2 separate regions of the Homo sapiens genome follow, and region 2 is linked to region 1. Evidence: promoter capture Hi-C in human tissues and cell types (Jung and others, 2019). All regions are on one chromosome and are shown on one strand. Each heading gives the region's core, a stretch centred on a gene start or on the middle of the fragment in contact. The rest is flanking DNA. Distances are from core to core; before and after follow the strand shown. Region 1 holds the start of MTM1 (myotubularin 1). Region 2 has its middle 130 kb from the start of MIR2114.

What was found. The method cuts DNA at HindIII sites, captures the fragments that hold promoters and counts their contacts. A contact is called where the count stands out against the background at its distance.
Region 2: a fragment that was not itself captured here is called in contact with the fragment with the promoter of MTM1 in region 1 in 1 of the 25 tissues and cell types used here (adrenal gland).

What each region holds. Positions count from the first base shown.
Region 1 is chrX:150,567,178-150,569,877 of GRCh38, reverse strand. It overlaps MTM1 (myotubularin 1), which reads right to left and starts at 1,257. Exons shown (of 15, transcript NM_000252.3): 1 at 1,216-1,257. RefSeq lists a silencer at 776-1,455. The HindIII fragment of the contact is 11,680 bases long and covers 1-2,700 here.
Region 2 is chrX:150,095,901-150,098,600 of GRCh38, reverse strand. No RefSeq gene overlaps it. Among named protein-coding and RNA genes, the nearest start is that of MIR2114, 130 kb to the left of the region's middle. The HindIII fragment of the contact is 6,940 bases long and covers 1-2,700 here.

The DNA.
Region 1 (2,700 bases), core at 8-2,507:
ATACATGATCGTGCCCAATATATATGTTGGATGAAGGCAAACGTGTCTGCAAAGTAACAGGCCTGATTGTCTTATTTGGTTGGTAAACCGATTTTGAAGGAAATTCAAAATGGTTTGCAGTCTAGCAAAATTGCTGGCTCAGTCTCAAGACTCTAAGGTGCTTATTTCACAAGGAATAATACTGAGCTGTGGTAAAAAGAATCCAGACTAGACAGACACCAAGATACCCCCAAAGAGCTGGCTTGTGATATTAGCTTTGCCATTAAGTTGCCCTGAAGCCCGGGACATATTAGTTACCCTCTCTGGGCCTCAGTTCCCCCATCCAGGAAACAAATGAACAATGTAAACTTCAGGATGCCAGTCAATTCTAAAATGCTATAATTTTATTCTTGTGAAGATCTGGTGTATCTGTTTCAAAACCAGTCGCAACCCACTTCGCCTCAAACGATGCGTGCGTCTATAAAGCTCTAATATAATTTTTGCAGCAGATTCACTTCTTACTTGCTTAGGCAAATACTAAAATTAGTTTTCACTTCCTGAGCGCAGCAAAAGACAGTTAAGGGAGGCAACCCGGCCACGGGCGCTTGCTCGTGCCTGTACATACTTCCGACTGCGTATCAGGGAACTAACCGTTCCCTCTAAGATCTTCCCTCAACTGTTGCAAAAGCAGATAAACCTCTCGTGTATGACACAGAAACACTGGCCGAGAGCGGCCATCGAGGCTTCGCGGCCAGTGCCGGGCTGCGGCCGCTCCGCAGGGCCCACCGGGGATGCGACGGACGCCCGCTCCGTGCGGAGGGCCAAGGCGAGGACCAGCCGCGGAGCGTCGCCGGGGAGGCAGGGCGGACGCCCGGCCCACTCACCGCCCCGGGACGGGGAAGCAAAGTCCAGGCAGTGGCTGAGACGTCCGCCCCCAGCTCCACGGCCAGCCAACCCCTACCCCCGTCCCGACCTTCGCCCGCCGCCGGCCGGCCACCTTGGGCGGGGAGAACGGGAGGAAGCCGGAGGTACCTGCCTGCTGCTCCCTGGCCTCAGCCCTGCCCCGCGGGGACAGCGACGGCGCTTGGACGAAACCCCCACCCAACCCTGACGGTGCGGCAAGGCCCCGCGCGACCCGCTGGCCCAAGGAGTCCCAACTTCCTCCTCCCGATCCCCTCACCACGGGTCCCCGCAGTGCCCGGCTCCGAGCCAGGCCAGCCGTGAGCGCGCACCCACCTCGGGCTCCGGGCGCCACCGCCGTTGCCAGGCTGCTCGGCTGCCGGGCCCTGCTCCGCCCCCTCTGGGGTCCGCCCCCCACGGCCTGCCCGCCCCCGGCCACCGCCCGCTGCCCGCCTCCCCGTGCCGGTTGGCGGGACTGCATCACGTGACGGGGCAGGGGGCAGGAAGAGTGCGCCGGGTCGACCTGGGGAGCAGCTCCGAAGGGCGGGGCTCTTCGCCCGAGAGGCTGCTGGGAAGCCCATTTTGAAGGGTCCGACGCATGGAGGCAGCTGGGAATTGTAGTTCGCAATATGGTGCTGGGGATGGGCGGGGCCAAGATGCCAGGGGCCATCCCTGTAAGGGAAGTTGGACTGGGCGCCGGGCGGAGGCGGCTGGGAAGCGTAGTCCCGGGACCCTTGTCTGGGTCTCCCCATTTTTCTTCAGTAAAGGGGAAATCCAGAGGGAAAACTTCTCTATACAAGACTTTAGCGGATGCCACTAAATTGAGCTATTATTGGGTACACAGGGTTGGCTGCGTAAAGTTGAGATAGTATAAGGGAAAAAGAAATTTCACTGACTCTGGGGCAGGATCTGCAATTCACAAACTCAACTAACAGCTGGGGTGTCCCTCAGCTGTGCCAGCACCTTTCCAAGAACGCAATTGAGACTTAGTGAACGGAAACATTTCAGTCCAAAATTCCTTCTACTTGTTGAGGTTTGGGTCAGACAACTATTGATACAGTAAAAAGAAAGGGACAGGAAAAAGAGAAGAAAGGCAAACTTCAAGAAGAGAATTCATTGTGTAATCAAATAAAACAAACAATCTGGGCCGGGCGCGGTGGCTCACGCCTGTAATCCTAGCACTTTGGGAGGCCAACGCAGGCGGATCACCTGAGGTCAGGAGTTCGAGACCAGCCTGGACGACATGGTGAAACCTCGTCTCTACTAAAAATACAAAAATTATCCAGGCGTGGTGGCAGGTGTCTGTAATACCAGCTGCTCGGGAAGCTGAGGCAAGAGAATCGCTTGAACCCGGGAGGGAGAGGTTGCAGTGAGCTGAGATGGCACCACTGCACTCCAGCCTGTGTGACAAAGCGAGACTGCGTGTCAAAAAAATTAAAAAAAGAAAAGACAACCTGGCACATAGAAAAATGAGCATAATATTCTTTGTACTGCATAATACTTATACGCGAGCAGTTCGAGTAAATAGGATGACTTTATCATGACCTGTTTTTTTTCTCTTGTATGTGTTAGTTCTCCAGCATCTAAAAACAGCATTTTACCTGATACCAGTGTATATGTGTACGTGTGTTTCTACATAGTCACACACATATACACATATATTCATATATCATTTATATATGCATATATATATGCTTTATTGAAGAGTCTAGACTTCTTAGAAGAGTAACAAAGCCATCCAGAATCCAACCCAACCCACTCTTTAGCCACTTCTCCCAGTGTGCCTCTTTTTGCTCTTCACCCCAAGCTCTGGCCTAGTTC
Region 2 (2,700 bases), core at 14-2,513, 470 kb after region 1:
ATAAGCAGTGAGCAGAGCCAGGATTCCAACTTTGGCAGTTTGGCTTCGGAGTCTATGATTTTAACAATTGTAATAGACCACCTCTCAAAATGTTCTCTGTTACTCTGTCCTATATCCTCTGTGCCTTTGTCTTACTGCCCTGACCTCATCAACTATGCCTTGACTATCTCCTGCCCTCACCACACACCCTTCCCCCACCCCTGCTGTCCTTTCCCCTAGTCTCCATAGTCAGGGTAGCAATAGGTCATCCTGCACTGCAGTGTGGGCTCGTCCCAGATCAGTGTCTCTGGTACCCCGCTAAGGAGCCCCATAACTGTTGGGTCTTTAGGTCTCAGAGCCCCATGCCCTGTGCTGGCTCAGTGCAGGCCCCACAGGAGATAGGGGAGCTGACACTCAACCAGGCTCCACCCACTTTCCACCTAGAGGAAATTCTCTAGATCAGAGGTTCTTAAACTTCAGTGGGTCATGGAACCTCTTCTAGACTCCCATGAAAGTCATGAGTACCTGCCTATAGGGTTGTGGCAAGGGTTAAGTGAGTTAATGTACATAAAGCCCTCAGAACATGGCCTGGAACTGGGCAAGCACTCTGCACATGCTTGTTGCTACTATTCCGGCTCAGGCCAGTGAGGCTAGAGGGCAGAGCACGTGGATGAGTGCAGTAAGAGGTGAAGCTGGACCAGCAAGCTAGGGTCAGATGGGGGAGTGCTTGACTAGGCTGGGCTGAAGAGTCTGGGATTACATCTGCACATGCAGGGGCACCATCAACCATTTCTGAAGAGAGAACCAAGACACACTAACTAACTGTGGAAAGATTATACAAATATGATGGTGGGGCTAGACACGGAAGAAGGTCACTCATTTATCTAGTCAGCCAGTCATTCATTCACTGAACTCTTACCCATGCCAGGCTCATGTTAGACCTGAATGAAGAGTTTCCAGGAATGAGATGCTTCAAATTCCACATAAAGGACTGAATCTGTGCCCCAAAGTGGCTTTCGCTTCACCACTTTCTCCGAAAAAATGCAATACCCCTCTTTCAGGGAAGCCAGGGCCTAGGTGGGCACATGGGAGTGGAACCCCCAGCTGAATCTATCAGTAGTCAGGTAAGTTTGTTTGGCTAATGGCCTTGCAGGCAGAAGGAATCTGAGGTAGGCAGAATAACAGTCCCTCCCAAAGATGTCCACGTCCTAATCCTTGGAACCTGTGAATATGTGACCTTACAAGGAAAAAGGGACTTGGCAGATTTATATTTTGGATTTATACGTTGGAATGAGATCATTCTGGATTATCCAGGTGGGTCCAATGTAACCCTGGATTCAGGGTTCTTATAAGTAAAAGCAGGAGGCATAAGGGAGGGTCAGAGTAAGAGTAGGTGATGTCATGATGGAAGCAGAGTCAGAGAGAGTCAGCAAGCGTGGGGGTAATTGAAATCTGAAGATGCTATGATACTTGCCTTGAAGATGGAGGAAGGGGCCACAAACCAAGGAATGGGGGCAGCCTCTAGAAGCCAGAAAAAGCAAAGAAATGGGCTCTCTCTTAGAGACTCCAGAAGGACTGCATCCCTGCCAACACTTTGACTTTAGCCTCGTGAGACCCATTTTAGACTTCTGACCTCCAGAATTGAAAGATGATAAATGTGTGTTGCTTTAAGCCACTAAGTTTGTGGTACTTTGTTACAGCATCCACAAAAAAAAAAAAAGATACAGAATCTGGGGTTAAAAAGGAAAGGTAAAGCTACGTGTGAAATCTATTTTAGAAATAGAACCAAACCTGGTAAAAGAAAACCACAGGGAAATGAAAGCTTATTTAGCAAGTACTCTGGGGGAGTATGGATGTTAACCTGAAGGGAGATTCACTTAAATCTTTACCTCTCCCTGAACAATCTAATTTATTCCAGATGGGTTACAGAATGAGATATATGGGAAGAAACTGGTAAAAAACAGAGGGAGAACAGGATGGTGAAGGGTCTTGGAATCACGACATAAGACGAATTAATGATAAGCCCTGAGACAAGAAGATGAGGGGTCCATGGTAGCCGTATTTGGAAAGTGCATACAGAGGACAGATCCAGGACTATGTGGGTTAGACATTTTGGGGAGATAAATTTCAGCTCAGAAGAAGGAAAACTTTCCAAATGATTGGCACTGTCTGAAACTGGCACAGGTGCCTTAGGAAGAAGTGAGCAGCATGTTCCTAGAGATATTTAAACACAAAATTAATTCTTGAAAGGGGATTCCTGAACTGGACATAGGATTTTGGAACTGGTAGGCCCCTCCCAGATTTGAGGTTGTGCCAAATACCTTCTGCAGCTTTGTGAGGACAGGGCCAATCAGTGCTCTTCTTTGTCTGGACTTGAAATAAACAAAGAAATTAATATCAGTTCAGAGACCAATTCCTCTCAGCTCCCTGATACAAGAAATATCAGAGAGAACATAAAATCCATGAAGTCTGAAGTGCATCCAAGGATATCATCCCCGAACAATTCCTCAGTGCTCCTGGGAATTACAAGGAAAGGTTAACAGATTTGCCTAAATTGGCTATGGTCCCATGACAAATGGAGTGGTCTCTGCATGCTGCATTCTGGGTGTGCAGGCAATCACCAAGGGCAGAGGGGCCTTGATGTGGCAAGGTAGGAGGACAAGGAAACTTCAAGGTTGATGCCTTGGCGGGACAAGCCAGTTGCCTGCCCTGGCCCAACCT